Regions from separate parts of the Homo sapiens genome. Here regions 2, 3, 4, 5 and 6 are each linked to region 1. Evidence: promoter capture Hi-C in 16 types of primary human blood cells and fetal thymus (Javierre and others, 2016). All regions are on one chromosome and are shown on one strand. The core of a region is centred on a gene start or on the middle of the fragment in contact, and the rest is flanking DNA. Distances in the headings are between cores, read along the strand shown. Region 1 holds the start of LETMD1 (LETM1 domain containing 1). Region 2 overlaps DIP2B (disco interacting protein 2 homolog B). Region 3 overlaps GALNT6 (polypeptide N-acetylgalactosaminyltransferase 6). Region 4 overlaps GALNT6 (polypeptide N-acetylgalactosaminyltransferase 6). Region 5 overlaps BIN2 (bridging integrator 2). Region 6 overlaps ATF1 (activating transcription factor 1).

What was found. Contacts are between HindIII fragments. The CHiCAGO score rates a contact against its expected background, and 5 or more counts as called.
Region 2: a fragment that was not itself captured here is called in contact with the fragment with the promoter of LETMD1 in region 1 in 1 of 17 cell types (erythroblasts); the score reaches 5.1 in erythroblasts.
Region 3: a contact is called between a fragment that was not itself captured here and the fragment with the promoter of LETMD1 in region 1, in 10 of 17 cell types (naive CD4 T cells, M0 macrophages, naive B cells and 7 more). The highest score is 8.4, in naive CD4 T cells.
Region 4: a fragment that was not itself captured here is called in contact with the fragment with the promoter of LETMD1 in region 1 in 16 of 17 cell types (megakaryocytes, endothelial precursors, activated CD4 T cells and 13 more); the score reaches 12.9 in megakaryocytes.
Region 5: a fragment that was not itself captured here is called in contact with the fragment with the promoter of LETMD1 in region 1 in 14 of 17 cell types (naive B cells, erythroblasts, neutrophils and 11 more); the score reaches 8.2 in naive B cells.
Region 6: a fragment that was not itself captured here is called in contact with the fragment with the promoter of LETMD1 in region 1 in 3 of 17 cell types (M1 macrophages, erythroblasts and M2 macrophages); the score reaches 7.3 in M1 macrophages.

The regions. Positions count from the first base shown.
Region 1 is chr12:51,046,150-51,050,471 of GRCh38, reverse strand. It overlaps LETMD1 (LETM1 domain containing 1), which reads right to left and starts at 2,145. Exons shown (of 9, transcript NM_015416.5): 1 at 1,994-2,145; 2 at 1,287-1,438. The coding sequence starts at 2,115. RefSeq lists enhancers at 1,362-1,900, 2,101-2,150, 1,901-2,439, 2,261-2,530, 2,621-2,700 and 1 more. The HindIII fragment of the contact is 4,204 bases long and covers 1,431-4,322 here.
Region 2 is chr12:50,729,461-50,733,782 of GRCh38, reverse strand. It overlaps DIP2B (disco interacting protein 2 homolog B), which reads right to left. Exons shown (of 38, transcript NM_173602.3): 31 at 2,246-2,414; 32 at 1,247-1,417. Among named protein-coding and RNA genes, the nearest start is that of ATF1, 32 kb to the left of the region's middle. The HindIII fragment of the contact is 4,800 bases long and covers 1-4,213 here.
Region 3 is chr12:51,363,500-51,367,821 of GRCh38, reverse strand. GALNT6 (polypeptide N-acetylgalactosaminyltransferase 6) reads left to right here. Exons shown (of 12, transcript NM_007210.4): 5 at 2,243-2,392; 6 at 3,467-3,701. Among named protein-coding and RNA genes, the nearest start is that of CELA1, 19 kb to the right of the region's middle. The HindIII fragment of the contact is 1,990 bases long and covers 1,096-3,085 here.
Region 4 is chr12:51,347,000-51,351,321 of GRCh38, reverse strand. GALNT6 (polypeptide N-acetylgalactosaminyltransferase 6) reads left to right here. Exons shown (of 12, transcript NM_007210.4): 12 at 1-70. Among named protein-coding and RNA genes, the nearest start is that of CELA1, 2.5 kb to the right of the region's middle. The HindIII fragment of the contact is 1,345 bases long and covers 1,704-3,048 here.
Region 5 is chr12:51,316,611-51,320,932 of GRCh38, reverse strand. All of the region lies in intron 1 of BIN2 (bridging integrator 2), which reads left to right. Among named protein-coding and RNA genes, the nearest start is that of BIN2, 5.4 kb to the left of the region's middle. RefSeq lists a silencer at 1-288 and enhancers at 1,539-1,708, 1,989-2,048. The HindIII fragment of the contact is 3,774 bases long and covers 580-4,322 here.
Region 6 is chr12:50,779,216-50,783,537 of GRCh38, reverse strand. It overlaps ATF1 (activating transcription factor 1), which reads right to left. Exons shown (of 7, transcript NM_005171.5): 2 at 3,300-3,398. The coding sequence starts at 3,392. Among named protein-coding and RNA genes, the nearest start is that of ATF1, 17 kb to the right of the region's middle. The HindIII fragment of the contact is 3,767 bases long and covers 244-4,010 here.

The sequences.
Region 1 (4,322 bases), core at 896-3,395:
AGGCAGGCGGATCACGAGGTCAGGAGTTAGAGACCAGCCTGGCCAATATGGTGAAACCCCACCTCTACTAAAAATAAAAAAATTAGCCTGGTGTGGTGGCAGGCGCCTGTATTCCCAGCTACTTGGGAGGCTAAGGCAGGAGAATTGCTTGAATCCGGGAAGCAGAGGTTGCAGTGAACCGAGATCATGCCATTGCACTCCAGCCTGGGCGACACGGTGAGACTCAAAAAAAAAAAAAATTCATAATAAAAAGTTTAAAAACAAACACAAATGCTTTCATCCCTTTCTCTCATTTGATCCTATTTATCTACATGAAAACAGAAAAAGCAGCCAATTTTATCTCTACAAATTAAGGATAAGTAATTTTTCAAGTCCATGAAGCTAGTAATAATTATGATAATGTTCAGATTTGACAATGTAGTTTATTATAGTGTTATGATAAAAGCATAGAGCATATTATAGATTTGGTGCAAAAGCAATTGTGGTTTTTGCCACTGAAAGCCAAAAGCCGCAATTACTTTTGCACCAACTTATAATACTGTTAGGTAACATTTAGATGAAAATAAGTTAACATTTACTTGGCACTTACTAGGGATCAGGACCTGTTCTAGGTACTTTACATGTATCAATTTTTAAAGTCTTCACAATCATGTGATAAATAGGTAGGTTCCATTACTCCCATTTTACACATAAGAAAACCAAGGAAAGAGGGGTTAATTAATTAGTCCAATCGCACAGTGACGAACTGGGATTTGAATCAGGCAATCTGGCTCCAGAGTAGACACTTGACACGATACATATCTTCTCCTAGTAACTAAGGATCTCTGATTTGAAACAAAACATTTAGAAACCAAGTATTATGTAGGGCTATTGCCACTACAACATACTACCTAATATAGATTCATAACAAGGGTTAGACCTCATTTTCCTATGGGTAAGTCAACTGATACATCACAGGGCAGGTCTATACAGCCACAGATCCCTGCCGTGTGCAAGGCAAAAAATTTCTACTATAGCCAGGTGTGTGGTTAAGAAAGTACGAGAACATACCTATATTCTCCCTCCCTCATGTTGCTGTCATAAGTTGTTTCTCATAACATCTTTCTAGAAACATTCTCAAGAAGTGCTAATTTATAGGAATTAGTTTAAGGCGCAGGCATTTATGAAATATAAGATATCTCGGCTCACATCCCCATAGCAGAACCTGCAAATGATCTTATTTATGCTAACTCTTTGACCCTGCCCAAGAGCTGATTCCGGAATTTCTATTGTAGTTTCGTTTTTACCTTTCATGAAGATTGTGTACAGGACATAGAAGCGGGGGAAATGACGACCCAAGAAACGATGGTATTTCCCATTAATCGCTTTTGTCTTGGTTACCACATAAGACATCAAGTTCTTCACATCTGCCTTTGGAGAAAGGTGAAGCTTTGAAGACCTACAAGGAAGATCAAAGAGACTATCTGGGAATCAGTCCTAGAAGCTCCCTCACGCCTTGAGTCCCTAATGTAAAGCAGGAGTCTCGGAGATTGTATCCCAAGGCTTGACACTTCTGAAATCCAAGGAAGGTCTTGGGGTCAAGAAGAGATAGGCAATCAGACTGTGAAACACAAATCAGGCAAAGGCCAGGCAGGAAAGTAACTCAGGGTATGCCTCTGGAGAGAGCGCAATGCCTGTGGGACAATTTGAACTGCAGGCTAAGTCAGAAAGAGGTGGAATCGAGATAGCAGCGGTAAAACCTGAGCCGAAAAAGTGAGGCTGAAAGATGAGCTCAGGACACGCGGGGAAACCAGACAATATGGGGCACTGAGAGTACAGAGGGTCAGGAAGCCGGGTCACTAGTGGGGATCGGAGTTTGAATCCTGAACAGAAGAATAAAAATTCCAGGGCCAAGGCGTGGAACTCTGAGAATTAAGAGACAGAATGCAAGCAAGGTTGAGACACTGAAAGAGCCTGGACGTCAAAAATGCTTTTCTCGCTACAGGTCCCTCACCGAGGGGCCCCCCAAGCCAGGCCAGAGCGACCAAGTTGCAGCCTCCGGGTGACAAAATGTCCAGGGGTGACTGCCGAGCCCCACACAGCCGACCGAGCCCAGCACACCCTGGAGAGCGCCATCTTCACAGCGAGAGAAGCGGGAGAGAAGAGGTTGTCTTTGGGTCAAAGTTAACCGTACGTCGCGTTCGTTCGAAGACGCATGCGTCTTTTCTGAGCGCTGATTGGTAGCCATAGCCTGCTTGGCTCCAGCACAAGCCAGGAGAGGGAAGGACTCAAAGACTAAGTGCGGAAGGAGGGCCAGGATTGGACACAGCAGTACTTCCAGGTTTAAAGGCGCCGGAAACAGGGTGTCCCAGAGGGAGCGAGTTCTTATGCCACTGGTGTGGGTTTGCGACGCGGAGGGCACCCTGTCCTTGAGGCGCCCAGTGACCCTCCGCGATTCCTTAGGGCCTCAGGGCTTCCCAGCGCCGCCCTTGCCCTCTGCCTGGACTCGGGGCGTCGGAGCCTCGACTGTTAGGTAGCAGATGTCAGTTTGCCAGTGCCTGGGGCTAGGAGGACCCGCGGCGCCCTCTAATGGTGCCGGCGTGGATAGGCCGGGAACTGTCCACTTTCCAGTCAGTCTGGCGGCGAAGGTTGGAGGCCTGGGAGCGGCCCCTGTGCGGACTGAGTACACTTTTTCCTCTCTTTGTCGTTTCCAGAACTAAGTTTGTGGGAAAATGGTTTTCGTTAAGCACCTACCGAAGACCAAGCTCTGTCTCAACTTAAATGTTACTATTCTGAGAGGATTTCTGTGACCACCCTATCTGAAGCAGTGCCGGCGAAAAGGACACACTTCACACTTATTCTCATGTTACTCTGTTTTGTTTTGTTTTGTTGTTTTGTTTTTGTGACAGTTTTGCTCTGTCGCCCCGGCTGGAGTGCAGTGGCGCGATCTTGGCTCACTGCAGCCTCCGCCTCCCGGGTTCAAGCGATTCTCCTGCCTCAGCCTCCCGAGTATCTGGGATTACAGGCGTCCGCCACCACGCCCGGCTAATTTTTGTATTTTTAGTAGAGACGGGATCTCACTATGTTGGTCAGGCTGGTCTTCAACTCCTGGCCTCAAGTGATCCGCCAGCCTTGGCCTCCCAAAGTGCTGGGATTACAGGCGTGAGCCACTGCACCCGGCCTTGTATTTTCTTTGTAGCATCTGTCACTTACAGTGTTTATGTATTTGTGTCCTTGTTTGACAGCTCCCTGAACTAGAATGAGGGTAAGCATCTTCTCTGCCTTGTTCATTGCTGCACCTCCAACACTAGGTGCCTTACTTAGCACATAGTAGGTGTTCAGTAAACATGTTTGAATAGATTCATACTTGAAACTAAGAAGGATTCCCAGAAGTGGTACTTAACTGCCTCCAAGAATTAACAGTCCTCTTGGATATATATGAATATTTATTCTTCATGGAAGGTGGTAGAGCATCCCATGTGGGTTCCCTGGATATAGGTTCAATCTTGGCATTGACGTTTGTTTTAGTGAATGTTACCTTGGATATGTCACTTTAGCTCTGAGTTTATTTCCCTTATAATAGTACCTACTTTATAAGAAATCTTTGAGGATCCAAAGAGAATACAGCTGTGAAAGCTCCCACATCTGTATAATGCTTTATGGGTCACAGAGCTTTATATTAGCACAGGTTATTAATGACTGTACCACTCGTGCAGTCAGAGGAAAAGTTTTAAAAGATGGCCCTGGATCTTCACAAGTGTTGGGTAGATGGGGTGGACGGGATAGAAAGTTGACTAAGACGGCTGGGCGCCGTGGCTCATGCCTGTAATCCCAGCACTTTGGGAGGCCGAAGCGGGCTGATTACCCGAGGTCAGGAGTTCGAGACCAGCCTGGACAACATGGTGAAACCTCATCTCTACTAAGAATACAAAAATTAGCCGGATGTGGTGGTGGGCGCCTGTAATCCCAGCTACTCGGGAGGCTGAGGCAGGAGAATCGCTTTAACCCAGGAGGCGGAGGTTGAGGTGAGCCAAGATCGCACCACTGCACTCCAGCCTGGGCAACAGAGTGAGACTGTCTCAAAAAAAAAAAAAAAAAAAAAAAAGTTGACTAAGACATGGTCTTCATATTCAGGTAGTTTTTTTTTTTGTTTTTTTTTTTTTTGGAGACAGAGTCTCACTCTGTCACCCAGGCTGGAGTGCAGTGGCGCAATTTCAGCTCACTGCAACCTTCATCTCCCGGATTCAAGTGATTCTCCTGCCTCAGCCTCCCAAGTAGCTGGGTTTACAGGCGCCCGCCACCATGCCCAGACAACTTTTGTATTCTTTTTTTTTTTTTTTGAC
Region 2 (4,322 bases), core at 564-3,063, 320 kb after region 1:
GAAATAATCCACCCATGTGTGCTATCTTCTTTCACTCACTTTGTCCATGCCTATATTTGCCTTATTATTTTTTTAAGAGACAGGGTCTCAATCTGTTGCCCAGGTTGCTGGAGTGCAGCGGTACAATCACAGCTCACTGCAGCCTCAACCTCCTGGGCTCAAGCAATCCCCTTGCCTCAGACTTCCAGGTAGCTGGGACTAGAGGCATGTACCACTAAGCCCATCTATATTTTTTGCAGGTGAGTGGTGGGGGTAGGGGAGAGATGAGGTCTCAACTATGTTGCCCAGGCTGGTCTCAAACTTCAGGGCTCAAGCAATCCTCCTGCCTTGGCCTCACAAAGTGTTGGGATTATAGCCATGAACCACCACACCTGGCGCTATATTTGCCTTATTACACATTAATACATAAAATTAGTCTCAGTTCTAGTCCCTTTTCTGTTATTTACCCATCAAGAATAACATGACAAAGTTGCCATCTGGGTAGAGAAGAGAATACAAGGTTATTGTTTGGAAAAAAAAAAAAAAAAAGAAAGAAAAAAAATGGTATAGAATATAGAGACAGAAAAACAGAAGGTCAGACCGGGCGCGGTGGCTCATGTCTGTAATCCCAGCACTTTGGGAGGCTGAGGCGGCTGGATCACTTGAGGTCAGGAGTTTGAGACCAGCCTGGTCAACAGGGCGAAACCCTGTCTCTACTAAAAATACAAAAAATAGCCGGGCGTGGTGGTACACGCCTGTAATCCCAGCTACTCTGGAGGCTGACGTGAGAGAACCGCTTGAACCCAGGAGGTGGAGGTTGCAGTAAGCTGAGACTGCACCACTACACTCCAGCTGGGGTGACAGAGCAAGGCTCCGTCTCAAATAAAAAAAAAAAGAAAAAGGAAAAACAGGTCAGATACAAGTAAAATCCAAATAGGACTCAAATCTTTGTGACTCGTCATCATGACCACACGACGATGACTCAAGTAAACACCAACACTGCGCTCACTGTCAGCACTGCTCCAAGAACTCCGAGTTGGCAGCTCAGTGATTGTGCAAGCTGCCTGGGGAAGCACAGTACTGCTACCTTCACCTTACAGATGAGCAAAATGAGACACAAAGAAATCGAGATTTAAAAGCCCGAAGTTCCAAAGCAAGTAAGTGCGGCTGGGGCCCAAGCCCAGGCAGCCTGGCTCCAAAGCCCATGCTCTGGGATACTCCATATTCCTCTCCCATTTGTCAACAGACAAGATTTCATGAGGGTCACCTGTAAACATATTGCTACATTGACTCTTGATCCAAAAGTGGTGCTGACAGCCCGCGGGGACAGCCCGATGTCTTTGAAGAGCTTAGAGAAGGACTGCTGGAGTGCAACGCGGGGCCTCTCCTCCGCCACCACCACACAGGTCCGGACGCAGGAGAGGTTGATCCCTCTGGTCTGCAAGACACCATTATATGGGAGCCAAGTCAGTAGGATCATAAAAGAACTGAACAGGTAAGGCCACTGTTCTAGCTCCTTGGTCAGGAAAAGCCAAGCAATTGTGTATTCTCACCTCAGGCACACAGAGAAAAAAGCAGCTTTCAGAAAAGAAGAAACGGACAAGGCATCCCATTAAAATCACTATCTGCTGGTAAATTTGCTCATTCTCTAGTTCTTTCCTCTTTCTTCTAAAAATCTAAGGCTCTTCAGCAATGTTTTTATCCCTCCTCATTTCTGTACCTTAGATGTCCCCCTATTTGATGAGACTGAGAGAAAAATTAATCTAGAACTCTGGCGATCTAATCTCATCTCTTTTTGCATTCCAAAGATATTTTTCTATCAAAGAAAATTCAGTATCTTCTGACTTTCTCATCTGCAAGTCAGACAGATCATCATTTGACACACACATGAATCAATGAGTTACCCTTATCTTTGGAGATATTCTGAATTCCTAATATTTTGAGGTTTCAAATTCTATTAGGAAAAAAAAGTATTGGAAGCCACAGTTCCCTTTTATGTTTACATAAAGTCTTTCCAGTTAGCCTCCCAACCAGTTTCCGCTTCTTGTCCACAAAGTAAGAATCATATTAAACTGTGGAAGAGTGCACTAAATTAGGAAGGTGGAAGAGATAAACTTGCCAAAGTTTAAAATACACCCTTTTTTAACTGAGTGACTTGAAAAAGGCAAGCAAACATGTCTGTTAGCCCCTGCTCTGGCCCTGTTACGTCCTGGCGCATTTCTTCAGAACCTTTTGGGACTGGCCACCTGCTGGAGCTGCTTCTTACCTTTAGCACTTCCACTTGGTTCCCAAGACCTTTGGTGCAGAGCTCCATCACTGAATAGGAGCAGAAAGTGTCCCTTATTTTGTACTGGTTGACTGTGGAGAGCCAGAGGAAAAGGTTGTTCTCTAACTCCATAGGAGGAATTAAGACAGACTGGTGGCCTGAATAGACACTGCAGTGAAAGAGACAAGAGCTGGAATCATCAATTCATCCTGGATACCTGATGCTTCAGAACCCCACCAATTCCACAGATATTTACTGAGTGTAAAGGACAGTGTAGGGACATATGAGATATAAAGCTCTAAGAATCAGTCTTGTTCCTATGCAACTCGCAAAAGGAGCAACTATGAAATAAAGCAGACTGTGGTAGGTCACTTAAGTCTACATAACATTCTTACAGCTGCCCTCAAGCTAATTAATATGGTCAAGATGATACTAAACATTCTGGAAAGGTAATTCCTAATAACTAATCTTTAAAACCCTGATGGAGTAGCATTTTTTCCTCTTTCTATTCAGAAACCTTATGTGTGGACTGGATTTTATTCCTATGGTTTCTTTTAAAGATGTTTATAGCCATTTTATTGATGCTCTGAATATGAGATGTGAATCAAGAACACTGACATCACAGAATAAAGAGCAGTTCATTCAAGCTCGATAAGCCAGGGTAGGGGAGTGGTAGTGCTTCACTGAGCTGGTGACACTTGAGCTGCAGCTTGAAGAATGAGTATGAATTTGGCAGTGGCCAGAAGAAGTGGGGACGGTAGTGAGGGTGTTCTAAGCAGAGGAACAACATTTACAAAGGCCGATAATTACAGCATGTTTGAAGCGATCAGAAATATTAATAGTATTCAAGTGGCCAGGCACGGTGGCTCACGCCTGTAATCCCAGTACTTTGGGAGGCCATGATGGGAGGATCGCTGGAGCCCAGAAGGTGAAGACCAGCCTGGGTAATAGAGCAAAACTCATGCCTCTACAAAAAAAATTTTTTTAACAATTAGCCAGGCGTGGTGGCACACACCTGTAGTCCCAGCTACTTGGGAGGCTGAGGTGGGAGGATCACTTGAGCCCGAGAGGCTGCAGTGAGCTGTGATTTGTGCCACTGCACTCCAGCCTGGGTGACAGATTGAGACCCTGTCTCCTTTAAAAAAAAAAAAAAAAGAGAGAGAGAGAAAGAAAGAAACAAAAAAAGAAAGAGAGAGAAAGAAAAAGAAGAAAAAGAAAGAGTATTCAACTGAAATCGTAGCATACAGGGTGAATGGAGAAGTAAGGCCAGAAGGGCTAAGGCCAAACTGTGAAAGGGCTTAACCATCCTATGAAGGAGTTTAGACTTCACCCAGCAGGCAGTCATTGCCACTTTAAGTTGGGGCAACACTGACAATATGGACATACGGAGTAGGGATTGGTGATACGAGCCACTGAAACTTGAGAGACAGTTAGGAGAGGCTGCAATAGTTCAGGTGAGAGGTGATAACAGGCTTGAACCCAATAGTGTATCCCAGGATAAAAAGGAAGGAATGGGACTGGGTGTGGTGGCTCACACCTATAATCCTAGCACTTTGGGAGGTCGAGGCAGGCGGACTGCCTGAGTCCAGGAGTTCAAGACCAGCCTGGGCAACATGACGAAACGCTGTCTCTACAAAACAATTAGCCAGGTGTGGTGGTGTGCACCTGTAGTCCCAGCTACTCAGGAGGCTGAGATGGGAGGATCGCTTGAGCTTGGGAGGTGGAGGTTGCAGTGAGCCGAGACTGCACCACTGCACTCCAGCCTGGGCAACAGAGCAAGACACTGATTAAAAAAAAAAAAGAAAAAGAAAAAAAAGAAAAAAGGACAGAAAGGAAATATGGATCCTCATATCCATATTCAGTCCATCACAGGAAGAACTATCAACACAATGTTTTTTTTTGTTTTTAAGCAAGAAAAAACAGGAAGGAACAGAGTTCCTATCATGTCTCATCTATAGCCACAAAGCTTAAACTCTTGGCTCATACAAAATGGCAGTGATTTTATGCCTAAACCTGTTTATAGATCAGAGTCACTAGAAGCTCAGGAATCCTGTATTTAAAAATACTGGTGGTGTGG
Region 3 (4,322 bases), core at 841-3,340, 320 kb before region 1:
AAGAAGTCACCATGAAGACACCTACCTCACCCACACCGGCACACACTCCAGCTCAGTGCTGGGTTATTGTGTGCGTGCATTTGTGGGAGATCAATTGCATGCAACCCCCTAAGCTGCTTAATTTCAGGACCTGCCGTTTGTAGAATGCTGCATTCAGAGCAAGGCCCAAGCTCTGGGCTGATCCCACAGTCCAAAAGGAAAAGGACACACAATTGTCACATCTGTCCCCCACATCTGAAACTGCAGGCAACTCCATTCTGCACAGAACAGAACCGTGGCAGAGATAAACCAAAATGGCAGTTAGTAAAACATAGTAAGGTTTGGAATTCGGTATGTTTCAAGATGGACTGCTTCAGAATAGAGCTATTCTTCGTTTGTTTTTTGTTTTGAGACAAGTCTTGCTATGTCACTCAGGTTGGAGTGCAGTGGCATGATCTCAGCTCACTGCAACCTCCACCTCCTGGGTTCAAGCAGTTCTCCTGCCTCAGCCTCCCGAGTAGCTGGGTTTACAGGTGTGCGCCACCACACCTGGCTAATTTTTGTTTGTTTGTTTTTGGTTTTTTTGAGACGGAGTTTCGCTCTTGTTGCCCAGGCTGGAGTGCAATGGTGCAATCTCGGCTCACTGCAACCTCTGCCTCCCAAGTTCAAACGATTCACCTGCCTCAGCCTCCCGAGTAGCTGGGATTACAAGCATGCGTGCCCAGCTAATTTTGTATTTTCAGTAGAGACAGGGTTTCTCCATGTTGGTCAGGCTGGTCTCGAACTCCCAACCTCAGGTGATCCACCTGCCTCCGCCTCCCAAAGTACTGGGATTACAGCCATGAGCCAGCGCGTCTGGCCTAATTTTTGTATTTTTAATAGTGGCAGGGTCTCACCATGTTGGCCAGGCTGGTCTCAAATTCCTTGGCTCAAGTGATCCATCTGCCTTGGCCTCCCAAAGTGCTGGGATTACAGGAGTGAGCCACCGTGCCCAGCCAGAATAGAGCTATTGTTAATGCTCTGAGGATTTCAGACTAAATTACAGGGCCATGAACTAAAACTCTTCTTTGAAAGGAGCTGGAGGTCTCAGTAGAGACATCTTCCCTTCAAAAAGCTTTCCCCGCTCCTCAAATCCAGGAGATTTGGCCCTTCTTTGGGACCCACACCCCAGCACTACCTCTGTTAGATCATGGATCACCTGCCCTGGAATTGCCTGTTTCCTGGTCAGCCTTGCTTCTGGGTGGTTTGTTCCTTAGGACAAATGGTCAAGCCGGCTGGGCTCGCCACTGTGCCTGGTCCGTGGTAGGTGCTTGGTGCAAGTATTTTCTTAATATAATTAAAAAGCTGCTGGGCATGTTTTCACCTTAAAGAATTCTATCTGCAGAGGAGGTTACAAAGGGGATTAGAGTCAGATGTCCTGCTGCTGATCCAGCAAGCAAGGAGTCACCATTTGTGTATGCCCACCCATCGACGTTACCGTGAAGAGCCTGGGAGACAGGGAATCCTAGACACTGGAAAACAACCGTGCAATGGAGCTGTGGAATTGCAGCTCTGGAAGATGGTGGCTGAGAGGGTGGAGAAACTGAGGGAGGCATCTGAGAGCCTCTGTCAGAATTTTGTACTTGGGCCGGGCGTGGTGGCTCATGCCTGTAATCCCAGAACTTTGGGAGGCCAAGGCAGGCGAATCACTTGAGGCCAGGAGTACGAGACCAGCCTGGCCAATATGGTGAAATGCTATCTCTACTAAAAATGTAAAAATGAGCCAGGCATGGTTGCACACACCTGTAGTCCTAGCTACTCAGGAGGCTGAGGCAGGAGAATCACTTGAGCCCAGGAGGTGGAGGTTGCAGTGAGCCAAGATCACGCCATTGCACTCCAGCCTGGGTGACAGAATGAGACTCCATCTCAACAACAACAACAAAAAGTTTGTACTTGATACGTGACCACAGAAACACAACTCTGAGGTGCTGTCCCTGACATTAGAGAGGGTGCCCAGGTGAACAGGCATAGGATCTAGCACCACAGAGCCAGAGCCCTGGTGAGGCAGTTTTGACCACAGACAGGGCTTCTTTCTTCCTCTCCCCATCTTCCCTGTTAACCTCCTTCCCCAGCTCCGGCTTCTGTGGAATGGCTCAGTACAGCAGGTGTTGGGGGTTTAAAATTCAGGCCTGCTAGAGGCCTGAGAGCCCCTAGCTTGGTGCCCACAGGGGATTGGGTATACAGCAAAGTGGTGGACTGGCCACAATGACACTGTCCCTTCCAGAGCACCTAAAGGAGAAGCTGGAGCAGTACGTGAAGCAGCTGCAGGTGGTGAGGGTGGTGCGGCAGGAGGAGCGGAAGGGGCTGATCACCGCCCGGCTGCTGGGGGCCAGCGTGGCACAGGCGGAGGTGCTCACGTTCCTGGATGCCCACTGTGAGTACCAGGGCACCGGCCTGGGTGTAACCTGGAGGCTCCCTCCCTGCTAGAATGAGCCAGGGCCACAGCCTCCCCAAGGCCCCTTCCTGTTCTCTCTTCCGGGAGTGAAGGAGGCTTGGGACCCACTCCAGGTGCCTCTACCCCTTTCTCACCCCAATCCCAAGGATGTTTCATCAAGAAGACAAACATCCCTAAAACAACTGGTGACCCCAAAATCACTGGAAGTGATTTCCAGTGATCACCGGGGCCCCGGACATTCATCCCTCCCTGTACTCCCATCTGCACCTTGCTCTGAGCTTGGCCCCTCAGAGAGGCCTCCTGCTATGACAGAACTGGCTTGTTTGGGGCTTTCTTCTAGGGCAACATGGAGCCAGGAAGGCCTCCTTCTTGCCCAAAACCAAAACACTTCCCCACTGTTGTGGAGGATGAAATATTTTCCCTAGGAGTGGTGATATATATTAGGGGAAGCTCTAGTCTTGGAGTCAGAATTCTTGGTTTGCATTCTGACCCTGCCCCACTAACAGCCTCAGTTTCCTCATTTATAAAATAGGAATGAGGATACTAACCTTACTGAACAGAAATATTACTCTGAGGGCCGAATGAAGTAATAATACGTGCAGAAGCTCACTGAAAATCTCAAGGAGCTAGACAAATGAAAGAGATTATTCTTCTACAATTAGGGCTGAAGCTTGACATGCGGATGCCCCTGGGAGGGGGAACACCCTCTTCTGAAATCCACACGTGGGCCCGGAGGGCTGGGCCAATGGATCGGCTGGAACCCCGGAAGATACCATCCAGGGCCTCCCTGTGCTTTTGGGTCATCTGAGTTGACCATGTTACTCCCCTGAGACCTCCATTCTCCCTGCCAAAGCTGCCTCCGCCTTTGGGGGTAGAGGGGTGGTAGAAGGGTTTTAGGAAATTCTGTGTGCTCCCTGTAGCTGTGGGGCTTGCTGCCTGTAACCCAGGAGTAGGTGGACTGTCTCTTATCCTCCTGGGCATTCCCTCCAGGATGCAGCTTGGGCTCTGCTGTGGGCAGGGCCCTGACTGCTGCCTCCTGGTTGGGGCCTGCAGGTGAGTGCTTCCACGGCTGGCTGGAGCCCCTCCTGGCTCGAATCGCTGAGGACAAGACAGTGGTGGTGAGCCCAGACATCGTCACCATCGACCTTAATACTTTTGAGTTCGCCAAGCCCGTCCAGAGGGGCAGAGTCCATAGCCGAGGCAACTTTGACTGGAGCCTGACCTTCGGCTGGGAAACACTTCCTCCACATGAGAAGCAGAGGCGCAAGGATGAAACCTACCCCATCAAGTAAGGACCGCAGCCTGGTGAGCCCCCAACCTGGCCCCAGTCCTACCCAGTTCCAGGAACCTGTGCCATCTCACATCAACATTTGTTAGGTGCTCTATCAAGCACTTGACATATTGTGATTAATCCTCACTCCCTATGAAGCAGGTACAATACTAAGAATACTAAGGCTCATAGTGATAAACACTGACCTAAGATCATGCAGCTAGCAACAGTGGAGCAAGGACACACTTCCCGGACTGTCTGGCCCTAACCGTGGCACTGCTCTTATTCACCATGACAGTTTGCTCTTATTCACCACTTACCATGTGCCAGGCACTGAACTAAGGGCTATACATTCTTTAGTTTATTCCTCCCTACACATAAAAGGAGTGGCCCATGCTTGCAGATGGGGCAAGAGATGTGATGGAGGCCATTGTGGAATAGTCACTGTAATAAGAGGGAGTGGTATGTGCCCCCAGGTGACTGTCTTTGAAAAGACTGAGAATATACTAAAAGAAAACAGACACATTTTCTGCAGCGTGAAGTTTGTAGCAGTTGCCCTGAACTTCTTTGGTGAAGGGCCAGATGATAAATATTTTGGGCTTTGCCAGCCACATATAGTTTGCTGCATATTCTTCATCT
Region 4 (4,322 bases), core at 1,127-3,626, 300 kb before region 1:
GGAGCTCTTGCTCCATTCAAAAAAAAATTAATGTTATGACTATGTTGGTATAAAGATGAATGTAATCCAGGCTGATTGGATTTACTTTATTTCTTCTGGTTTTAAAAGAAGCTAAAACATTTCTATGGGCCCTGGGCACTGCACCTGCTGTGCCTACTGGGTAACTCAGCCCCGTACAAGAGTGGGTTGGGGCCCAGTTGAGAGAGGCTTTGGTAGGTCCGGTAAGCCACAGGGAGTCGTGGAGCCTAACCCTAGCCTTATTCTTGGTTGCATTAAATATCCAAACGTGGATCCCAGTATCCCTCATACTGTCTATGGTATCACCCAACAGCTCCCCAGCCTAATCATATGATGTAGCCCAACCAAGGTGCCCAGCTGTGTCAAGAAGGTTCCACCTGCCCCCAAATAGCATAGCACTTCCCAGGCACAGTCAGCCAAGAGCTACTCGCAGGGAGTGGGAGATGCAGCAGGAGGGAGACACAGGCTGTGTCTAGAGAGGAGGTCTGGGTTCAGGGATGAGGGGAGGACTAGGGAAGGGAGGTGGTGGAGAAGAGGGAGAAGGCACTGATGGGAGTGGTGGGAAGGCTCAAGAAACTAGCTTTGGCCAGGCACCAATGTCTGACAACTGTAATCCCAGCACTTTCAGAAGCCGAGGCGGGCAGATCACTTGAGGTCAGGAGTTCAAGACCAGCCTGGCCAACATGGCGAAACCCAGTCTGTACTAAAAATACAAAAGTTAGCCAGACGTGGTGGCAGGCGTCTGTAATCCCAGCTACTCGGGAGGCTGAGGCACAAGAATCGCTTGAGCCTGGGAGGCAGAGGTTGCAGTGAGCTGAGATTGTGTTTCAGCCTGGGTGACCGAGTGAGACTCTGTCTCAAAAAAACAAACAAACAAACAAGAAACTAGCTTCTTCATGGCATTTTCCTTAGTCAAGCCTGGCCTGGCCCTAACAACACCCGTATTCTTCCTTAAAACCCACCCCTCTGACCACTCTCAGCTAACCTAAGGCCCCTACCTCTTAAAACCCTGCTGCTAGCCCTGTGCTACTATCTCCCGGCTCTAGGAGTCTCTCACTCTAGCATTAAAGAGCTAGGCCTCTCTGGGGATCTGTTTCCCACATGAAGAGTACTGGGGCCATTGCCACAAATAGCTAGATGTCCCAGAATTTATTCTTATTTTTAATTACCAAAGTAATACTGTGCCAGCCTGGCCAACATATCGAAACCCCGTCTTTACTAAAAATACAAAAATTAGCTGGGCGTGGTGGTGGGCACCTGTAATCCCAGCTACTCGCAAGGTTGAGGCAGGAGAATCGCTTGAACCTGGGAGGTGGAGGTTGCAGTGAGCCAAGATTGTGCCACTGCACTTCAGCCTGGGCAACACAGAGAGACTCCATTTTGTTTTGTTTTGTTTTTTTTAAAGTAATATTGTGGAGAAAAGTCAAGTGATCTAGAAAAGTGAGGTTTAAAAAAGTGAAATTTGCTACTTGGGAGGCTCAGGTGGGAGGATTGCTGGAGCCCAGAAAGTCAAGGCTGCAGTAATTTGTGATCGTGCCACTGCACACCAGCCTGGGTGACAGAGAGAGACTCTGTTTCAAAAAAATAATAAAGCTATATAGTATTCCATAGCAGGGTTAAACCCAATTTATTCAGTCTTCCTCTACTGATGAATACTTAGCTTTTTTCCAATTTTGCAACAAGCTTTGTGACAAACTATACTGTAACCCACAACCTCGAACATTTATTTTTCTGCCTGTTTTTTTGTTTTGTTTTGTTTTGAGACTGGGTCTTGTTTTGTCACCCAGGCTGGAGTGCAGTGACACAATCATGGCTCACTGCAGCCTCGACCTCCCATGCTCAAGGGATCCTCCCACCTCAGCCTCCCAAGTAATGGGACTACAGGCATGCGCCACCATGTTTTTTTCATGTTTTGTAGAGACAAGGTCTCATTATGTTGCCCAGGCTGATACCAAACTTCTGGCCTCAAGCAGTCCTCCCGCCTTGGCTTCCCAAATTGCTGAGATTACAAACATGAGCCACCATGCCCGACCAGTGTTTATCTCAAAAGAATTCATTCCTAGAATTGGTATGCAATGTCAGAAGAAATGCAATGCCTCAAAATTTAAGTCATTGTCTGGCTGGGCGGGTGGCTCATGCCTGCAATCCCAGTACTTGGGGAGGCTGAGGTGGGTGAATCACTTGAGCTCAGGAGTTTGAGACTAGCTTGGGCAACATGGTGAAACCTCGTCTCTACAAAAAATACAAAAATTAGCTGGGCATGGTGGCTGGCACCTGTAGTCCCAGCTACTTGAGGGGCTGAGGTGGGAGGATCGCTTGAGCCCAGAAGATGGAGGTTGCAGTGAGTTGAGATCATGCCACTGCACTCTAGCATGGGCAACAGAATGAGACCCTGTCTTAAAAAAAGAAAAAATTTAAGCCATTGTCTATGCCTAACCCTAAGAGTAAGATTTTTTTTTTTTTTTTTTTGAGATGGAGTCTTGCTCTGTTGCCCAGGCTGGAGTGCAGTGGCACAATCTCGGCTCACTGCAACCTCCACCTCCAGGGTTCAAGCAACTCTCCCTGCCACAGCTTCCCAAGGAGCTGGGATTACAGCTCCCAAGCACAGGGACTACACCACAACGCCTGGCTAATTTTTGTATTTTCAGTAGAGACGGGATTTCACCATGTTGGCCAGGCTGGTCTGGAACTCCTGACCTCAGGTGATCTGGCCCTGCTGTGATGTAAAGAGGTAACCTTCAGGAGGCCCTCAAGCCTCCTCTTGGACTCCTCATCCTGGGGCTAGAGGCCAGAGGAAGCAGGGAAGCGGGAGGAGAATGACCAAAGAGGCCCCGGGTTCCCTAGCGCAGCTCACCCCTCTTCCCTGAGTGTGCCAGAATGCTGGAGGGCAGGCTGGAGAGCAAGCTCTTCAGGTTATCTGAGCATCAAAGTGCAACTCCTCTGAACAGCTCTAGACACTGAAAAAGTGACTGTGCAGATTCCTTCAAAGAGCATTTTCCAGGTTTCTCCCACCCCTGCAGCCATGAAGCTTGGATTCTGGAGTGTTTAGGCAACAAAAGCCCTGGGTGGGCAGGTGATGGTCCTGCTTCTGTCTAGGTTCCTGGCTTCTCCCTGCCTAATTCCAAACCCCATGCGTTGCTACCATGACTGCTGCACCCACAGTCCTCTGCTCTGGAGCCTGCAGTGGCTCTGATCATTTTGTGGCCAACCCAAGGGTCCTCTGCCCACCTCAAGGCACATTGCAACTCTTTTCTCTCTCTATTTATTTATTTATTTATTTATTTATTTATTTATTTATTTATTTATTTTGAGACAGAGTCTTGCTCTGTCTCCAGGCTGGAGTGCAGCAACCTCCGCTTCCCAGGTTGAAGCGATTCTCCTGCCTCAGCCTCCAGATTAGCTGGGACTGCAGAAGCGCACCACCATGCCCAGCTAATTTTTGTATTTTGTTTTTGTTTTTTTTTAGATGGAGTCTCGCTCTGTCGCCCAGGTTGGAGTGCAGTGGCGCGATCTCGGCTCACTGCAAGCTCCGCCTCCCGGGCTCACGCCATTCTCCTGCCTGCGCCTCCCGAGGAGCTGGGACTACAGGCGCCTGCCACCACGCCCAGCTAATTTTTTGTATTTTTTTAGTAGAGACGGGGTTTCACTGTGTTAGCCAGAGTAGTCTCAATCTCCTGACCTCGTGATCCGCCCGCCTCCGACTCCCAAAGTGCTGGGATTACAGGCATGAGCCACCGCGCCCGGCCAATTTTTGTATTTTTAGTAGACGGGGTTTCGCCATGTTGGCCAGGATGGTCTCGATCTCTTGATCTTGTGATCCGCCCGCCTCAGCCTCCCAAAGTGCTGGGATTACAGGCGTAAACCACCGCGCCCGGCCGCAACTCCCTTCTCTCTCCTCTACGAACTGTGATGAACAAAGCCTTTCATCTCCTGCAGGAACCTCGGCTCCTACCCTCGTTCTCCCTCTGCCCTCCACCCTCCATCTACCCTCATAGCCCTCAGACTGTCTTCACATCCCAAGGATCCCCTCCTCTACCCTGCCTCATATTCTCCTCTGGGAGCCCCTTCTTGGCTCTCCATCTGAGAGGGCCCAAGCCTGTTTCTCAGTACTTTCCTCCCCCAGAATTATCTCCACTGCATCTATTTGGCTTTTGTGTCTGCATTTACACCTATGCCTGCATCCTGGGGGCATGTGCCATCTCCCTCTTTGGGCAGAGAGAGTTGCTGTGTCTTCCTTGCCCTTGCTAACCACTCCCCCCTCTTCCACTATCCCCCTGGCCTCCAGCTGCTAGTGCACAGGGCAA
Region 5 (4,322 bases), core at 1,217-3,716, 270 kb before region 1:
AGTATGATACATCTTCTCATTTCCAACTATAGTACTGCTTTCACCATCTGTTTGTGATTTCTCTGTGGCAAACCTCTCAGATCCCCCTGAGAAGGGGCGTTGTTTACCACTCCTTTGTTGGTCTTCTCCTCTGTTGACATCTACTCAGCTTAAATCCCAGAGGGTTAAATTCCACAAATATTTACAGAAAAACTCCTTTGTTCAGGGTACTGGGCTGGACCCAGCAGGGAATTTAGGGGTAAGAGACATTCTTGCTTTGCCAAAAGCTTAAGATCTAGTTAAAAAAAAAAAAAAAAAAGAATAATGATAATAAAATAACTGACCTGAGAGATGCAGGTCTATTCAGAGGACAAAAGGATTGGGGAGAATCGAGAGGTTTTATAGTGGAGGCTGAATTTGAAATAGGAATTATGGGAGATTAGTAGTTTTTCAGACACGTGATCAGAGAGCATTCTAGCTGAGAAGTGCCAGCATAAGCAAGGCATGGAGACTGGAGTGAGAACTACAGCTCAGCTGGAGCACAGGGAGTGGTCAGAGCAAAGGCTGGAAAAAGTATATTAGGACCTTTTAAGGAAAGCTTACTTTATCATATATCCTAAAAATAAAGATTTCCGGCCAAGCGCCATGGCTCATGCCTGTAATCCCAACACTTTGGGAGGGCGAGGTGGGTAGATCACCTGAGGTCAGGAGTTCGAGACCAGGCTGGCCAATGTGGCGAAATCCCAGGAGTTCGAGACCAGGCTGGCCAATGTGGCGAAATCCCATCTCTACCAAAAAATACAAAAATTAGCCTAGTGGTGCACACCTGTAGTCCTGGCTGCTTGGAGGCTGAGGCAGGAGAATCGCTTGAATCTGGGAGGTGGAGGTTGCAGTGAGCTGAGATTGTGCCACTGCACTCCAGCCTGGGCAATAGAGCTAGACTCTGTCTCGAAAGTAAGAAAGAAAGAGAGGGAGAAAAGGAAGGAAGGAAGGAAAGAGAAAGATTTCCTACATAACCACAAAAATTTACTGCACCTAAGAAAAAATTTTAGCAAAATTTTATAATATCAAATATCCAGGCCCTATGCAAATTACCCCAATTGAGGGAATTAACTAAAATATAATAAATGATTATGGGAGAGGCAATGGTAGGGAACTATAGCCACCAAAGATATATGTAGTAATTTTTTTTAAAGCTCTATTTCCACCCCAACCCTGATCTACAGAAAAGTTATAAATAATCAATGAACACTGGAATATTTTTCATGCAGATTCACCAAGTGTTAACGTTTTGCCACATTTACTTTTTTGCCTTGCTCTTGCTCTTTCTCCTTAAATATCTATATTCTAATTTAGCTGCCAGGCCAGATAAATTGGGACAGAATTCTCAAAGCAGGATTTTAGGGATTAGCATTATATGGGTTTTCATTAGGAAGTGATCCAAAAGTAGAATTTATTCATTGTTTCAACAAACATCTGTTTAGCATCTGTACACCCTGTTCCCTCAAGGGTCTTTCGTTGGGAAGAACACCCATGACACAGTATAAGTGCCCTAACATGTACCTGTTGCTTATGGCAACAAATTACTTTGGCTCCAGAGTACTGGGGTATGTTTCAGGGTGGTAACACCTTTTCACTTTCAGAGTTGGAGGGTGAGGAAGTTTCTCTCAGTACCCCCCAACCCCCGACCCCACACTCTCCAAGCCTTTTGGCCTTGAGCCTTTTGGGGATTGGGGAGATTGGTCTGCCCCAGTCATCCCTTACACTGACTCTAGACTGAGTTTTCTCTTTTCTGTTTTTTCTGTCCTCTCCACCTAAGAAGAACCAAATTAGGGACAAAGGAAGGGAGGGGTAGCAGAAAGGAAGTTAAGAGCTGCACTTACCACTAACAAGGTGGTTTTGCAACTTTCTGGTAGAGAACAGTGTTTTGTTAGCTGAGAAGGGTGGAGCCAGGGAGGATGGCAGACTGCACATCCAGGGCTGGGTGGCAAGTGAGGTGCAGTTAGAGACGGACAAAAACAGATATGGCCAAACCAAACAGATATGGCCAAACCAAAAATATAAGCATTTACAGGCAAGGGAGCAAAACTAAACATAATGACAGTGAGTACCTATTGAGTGCTCTTTGTAGGGCAGCTCTGAGAAAGCAATTTACATGCAAAATATCATTTAATCCTCCTGACAACTCAAGGAGATAAATATTATCTAATGGGGGAAAGGGAGTTCTGTAAACCGAGGCTCAAAAGTTTTAATGACTTGCCTGAAGACTTACAGTCAGTAAGTAGAAAGGCCAAGATAGGAGCCCATATCTGTCTAACTCCAGAATGCTTGATCTTATCCACTACAGCAAGAGCTCCAGGAATGAGACACACCCCCGGATTAAGAATGGAGATACTGGTGGCCCAGTGGCTCACGCCTATAATTCCAACACTGGGAGGCTGAGGTGGGCAGATCACCTGAGGTCAGGAATTCAAGACCAGCCTGGCCAACATGGCGAAACCCTGTCTCTACTAAAAATACAAAAATTCGCCAGGCGTGGTGGTGGGCACCTGTAATCCCAGCTACTTGGGAGGCTGAGGCAGAAGAATGGCTTGAGCCGGTGAGGCAGAGGTTGCAGTGAGCTGAGATGGCATCACTGCACTCCAGCCTGGGCGACAGAGCAAGACTTGTCTCAAAAAAAAAAAAAAAAAAGAATGGAGATATGAATCAGAGTCTCTCCACAGAACCTGCCACACTCCCCAGATCTGGGCACTCTTGCATGGCATTCAAAGCCCTTCACAATGAAACTCCAGTCTCCCTTTCTAGCTTCATTCCCCACCACTCCCCATAACAGCCATGCTGAACCAGCTAGTGAAGCTGTGTACTCCTATGATTTTCCTGATGCTGTTGTCTCTAACTGGAATCCTCTTTCTGCTGTCACCCTTTATACTCTATTTCTTTTTTCTTTTTCTTTTTCTTTTTTTCTTGAGACGGAGTCTTGCTCTTTTGCCTAGGCCGGACTGCGGTGGCGCTATCTCGGGTCACTGCAAGCTCCGCCTCCCGGGTTCATGCCATTCTCCTGCCTCAGCCTCCTGAGTAGCTGGGATTACAGGCACCCACCACCACGCCTGGCTAATTTTTTGTGTTTTTAGTAGAGACGGGGTTTCATCGTGTTAGCCAAGATGGTCTCGATCTCCTGACCTCGTGATCCACCCGCCTCTGCCTCCCAAAGTGCTGGGATTACAGGCGTGAGCCACCGCTCCCGGCCTTTTTTTTCTTTTTTAATTTAATTTAATTTAATTTTTTGTTTTGTTTTTTGAGACAGAGTTTCGCTCTGTTGCCCAGGCTGGAGTGCAATGGCGCAATCTTGGCTCACTGCAACCCTTTAACCGATTCTCCTGCGTCAGCCTCCCAAGTAGCTGGGATTGCAGGCGTGCACCACCACACCCAGCTAATTTTTTTTGTATTTAGTAGAGATGGGGTTTCACCATGTTGGTCAGGCTGGTCTCAAACTCCTGACCTCAGATGATCCACCCGCCTTGGCCTCCAAAAGTGTTGGGATTATAGGCGTGAGCCACTGCGCCTAGCCCCTATACTCTATTTCAGTCTAGAAAATCCTACTCCAAGGCTCCACTCATTCAGTCCTATATCCTCTCCTAGATCAGTCTTACTCTCCTTCCTGTTACAATTATTAAATATCTAGTTCCTGGATACTGAGAAATCCAAATGAACAAAGCAAGTACCTAAACCTTAAGGAGCCTATAGTTTAGGAGAATAAACAAATAGAAATAATAAAACAGGCCGGGCACAGTGGCTCACACCTGTAATCCCAGCACTTTGGGAGGCTGAGGCGGGCGGATCACCTGAGGTCGGGAATTCGAGAGCAGCCTGACCAACATGGAGAAACCCTATCTCTACTAAAAATACAAAATTAGCCAGGCGTGGTGGCACATGCCTGTAATCCCAGCTACTCAGGAGGCTGGGGCAGAAGAATTGCTTGAACCTAGGAGGCGGAAGTTGTGGTGAGCTGAGATCACGCCATTGTACTCCAGCCTGGGCAACAAGAGCGAAACTCTGTCTCAAAATAATAATAATAATAATAGTAGTAGTAGTAATAAAACAACAATTGGACTGTATACAAGATACAGAAGTTGCAAGCACTTGGAAGGGAGTGAATAATCGATCAATGGGATGAAGTGGATGTGGTTAAGTATCACAAAAGATACGGAGTTGAACTGGGTTTTGTAAGATACTTGCCTGGCAGACAAGGTGAGGAAAGGCATTCTAGAAAGAGGGACCAGCATCTATGACAAGCAACAGTGTGGGTTATTTGGGAAACTAAAAAAGTGTTAGGAAAGGAGACC
Region 6 (4,322 bases), core at 878-3,377, 270 kb after region 1:
AAATGTATTTATTCCACTTCACCGTAAATATGCTTCTGAGGAAATTTGAAGAGTCACATCTAACTAAAATAACTGAAATATAGATATAAGTAAGCCAACTGAATTAGAACATTTCTGTAAAGTGCTCTATTAACAGAAAAATAATCAAAGAAAGACTCCACCTTATTTTTCTAGCACCATCTGGAGAAGACACTGCTATTCTTCACAGATATAGCCAAATAAGGCAGAAGGATATATCAAGCTTAAAGGACTAACCCCTTTGGGTCACTGGTTTTCAAACCTTTTGGTCACAAATCCTTTTGACATTCTCAAACTTATTGAGGACCCCCCAAAATTATTATTTCAGTTATATTTATTAATACTTACCATATTTAAAATTAAATTTAAAAAATTAGCAGTTCATTTCAAAATACAATAACAATCCATTACACGTTACCATACCTATTTCCATTAATACATTTTCAAAAAAAATTAGTGAGAGAAATGGCATTGTTTTACATTTCTGCAAATTTCCTTAATATCTGGCTTAATAGAAAACAGCTGAAATCAGCCGGGTGCAGTGGCTCATGCCTGTAATCCCAGCACTTTGGGAGGCCAAGGTGGGTGGATCACTTGACGTCAGGAGTTCAAGACCAGCCTGGTCAATATGGTGAAACCCCACCTCTACTAAAAATACACAAATTAGCTGGTCGTGGCAGTGGGCACCTGTATTCCCAGCTACTCGGGAGGGTGAGGCAGGAGAATCACTTGAACCCAAGAGGCAGAGGTTGCAGTGAGCCAAGATCGCACCACTGCACTCCAGTCTGGGCGACAGAGCAAGACTCCGTCTCAAAAAAAAAAAAAAAAAAAAGGCTGGCCACAGTGGCTCACACCTATAATCCCAGCACTTTGGGATGCTGAGGATCACTTGAGCCCAGGAGTTTGACACCAGCCTGGGCAACATAGTGAGACTCTGTCTCTACTAAAAAAAAAAAAAAAAAAAAGGCCGGGTGTGGTGGCTCAGGCCTGTAATCCTAGCACTTTGGAAGGCTGAGGCGGGTGGATCACGAGGTCAGGAGATCAAGACCATCCTGGCTAACACGATGAAACCCTGTCTCTAGTAAAAATACAAAAAATTAGCCGGGCGTGGTGGCGGGCGCCTGTAGTCCCAGCTACTCGGGAGGCTGAGGCAGGAGAATGGCGTGAACCTGGAAGGCGGAGGTTGCAGTGAGCCGAGATCGCGCCACTGCACTCCAGCCTGGGCGACAGAGCGAGACACTGTCTCAAAAAACAAACAAACAAATAAACAAACAAACAAAAAAAACAGAAAAAGAAAACAGCTGAAATCTCTTATCTGATTCTACATTAATTATGTTATCATACATTGTTTTGGTTGAATTATATGAAGAAAATCTGCCCTCACATAGATATGCAATTAGAAAAGATGTGTAGTGTTTTAAAAGCCTTTTCATTTCATTGTATTCTTTGATACAGCAGCAAAACTCAGCAAGTTATAGTTTCTTAAAGGTTATTTGCCATGTACAGTCTGAACTTTGTGTATTGTTAACATTAAAATCCGTTAGTCTCATCTTGCACTTTAAATGGCTCTTACACTCATGCATGATTTTTTTTTTTTTTTTTTTGGAGATAGGGTCTCACTCTGTCACCCAGGCTGGAGTGCAGTGGCATGATTATAGCTCACTGCTGCCTTGAACTCCTGGGCTCAAACAATCCTCCTGCTTCAGCCAAGTAGCTGTTACTACAGGTGTTGTAGTGCCACCACACCCAGCTAATTTTTAAAATTTTTTGGCCGGGCACGGTGGCTCACGCCTGTAATCCCAGCATTTTGGGAGGCTGAGGTGGGTGGATCACCTGAGGTCAGGAGTTTGAGACCAGTCTGGCCAACAGGTGAAACCCCGTCTCTACCAAAAATACAAAAAATTAGCTGGGTGTGGTGGTGGGCGCCTGTAATCCCAGCTACTCGGGAGGCTGAAGCAGGAGAATCGTTTGAACCCGGGAGGCGGAGGTTGTAGTGACCCGAGATCGTACCACTGCACTCCAGCCTGAGCGACAGAGCGAAACCCTGCCTTGAAAAACAAAAACAAAAACAAAGAAAACAACTCTAAATACAGTTAGGCCTCTTTATTCATGGGTTCTGCATCCATGAGTTTCACATCTGTGGATTCAACCAACCACAGATTGAAAATATTCAGGAAAAAAAATTTCTCTATACTGAACATGTACCGACTGTTTTTCTTGTCATATAGTATAACTATTCACATAGCATTTACATAGTATTAGGTATTAAAAGTAATCTAGAAATGATTTAAAGTATACAGGAAAATATGTAGGTTATATATAAATACCATGCCGTTTTCTATCAGGGGCTTTAAGCATCACAGATCTTGGTATCTGTGGACGTCCTGGAACCAGTCTCCCACAGATACTGAGAGATGACTATATACTTCGTTTAAAAGAAAATAAAACTAAATGATCTTGACAAGATATTTAAAGTCCACCTTCTTTTCTTATATTTTAACATTTTATACAGTCTTTTTTGCTTGTTTTTCTATTTTATTTTTTATTTATTTATTTTTATGATATGGAGTCTCGTTCTATTGCCCAGGCTGGAGTGCAGTGGCATAGTCTGTGCTCACTGCAACCTCCACCTCCCAGGCTCAAGCGATTCTCCTGCCTCAGCCTCCCGAGCAGCTGGGATTACAGGCAACCGCCACTGCACCTGGCTAATTTTTGATTTTTATTAGAGACAGGGTTTCGCCATGTTGGTCAGGCTAGTCTTGAACTCTTGACCTCGTGATCCGCCCGCCCTGACTTCCCAAAGTGCTAGGATTACAGGCGTGAGCCACTGCGCCTGGCCTTTGCTTGTTTTGTTTTTTTTTTTTTTTAACATTAATGCCAGGTCTGGTGGCTCACACCTGTAATCCCAGCATTTTGGGAGGCCAAGGTGGGTGGGTTACCTGCGGTCAGGAGTTCGAGACCAGCCTGGCCAACATGGTAAAACCCCATCTCTACTAAAAATACAAAAAATAGCCAGGCGTGGTGGCAGATGCCTGTAGTCCCAGCTACTTGGGAGGCTGCGGTAGGAGAATTGTTTGAACCCAGGAGGTGGAGGTTGCAGTGAGCCGAGATCATGCCACTGCACTCCAGCCTGGGCAACTAGAGCAAAAATCTGCCTCGAAAAAAAAAACCCAAAAAACAAAAACCAAAATAAAACACATTAATAATCAGTCTGAAACGAGATTAATCTGCATATAAAATATTCCTAACAAGCTCAGTATTTTGGCCAGTCCCTCCCTTACCTGTTGAGCAATATGAGAAATGTGAGCTCCCTGAACTGCTGAACCAGGTTGAGGTGCTGTCTCTGACGTGGTACTCTTGTGGGAATCTTCCATAATCAACTATAAGGGGGAAAAAAGTCCGTTAAAATTAAATATGATACAGAATGTTTACAGTATACTATAGAATCATATAAAAATTGATCATTTAGTTGCCTCAATGGAAAAGAACTGGTAGCAATGGTATAGAGATAGAAAGGGGACTGTGCATTTTCTTTAAATTTTTTGAATTTTGGCCCACAAAAACATGTTTAAGTTTAATAAAAGGCACATATAAACATAAATTATGATGACTAAGTTTGCAAACGTTATCCCATTGAAGAATGATGACAGTCCTCCTGTCTATGGACACAAACATATCTGTCTCTAGTCTAGGGAAGTTTCTAAGTGTACATATAGTTTTTTATATAGAGAATTTACTGAGTAAAAGTTGAACAAATAAATAAAACTATACCTAAGGAGGTTCTAAATAAGTTCTAGAAAACTTAGATAATCAACTTCAGGATATGTAGGCTAGGTAAGAATGAGAATAAATGAGCTATGAGAGATCAAATACGGCAAATAGGGAGAGAACCACTAACAAGCTGGTAAAAGATTTAGACAGAATTTAATGTTTTTAAAGGTTACCTGGAAAGGCCAAAAAAAAAAAAAAGAGAGAGGGCTAGCCAGAAAGCTTATGAAAAGATGCTCAATATCACTATTAAGGAAATGCACTGAAAACTACAACGAAATATCACCTCATACATACCCATTAGAATGGGTAATATCAAGACACAGAAAATACTAAGTGTTGGCAAGGATGTGGAGAAACTGGAACCCTGGTACACTACTGTGCTGGTGGGAATGTAAAGTGGTACAGCTATTATGGAAAACGCTATGGCAGTTCCTCAAACAAAAATAGAGCAATTTCACTTGGTGGTGTATATATCCAGAAGAATTGAAAGCACGGTCTCAAGGAGAAGAATATTTGTACACCTATGTTCATGG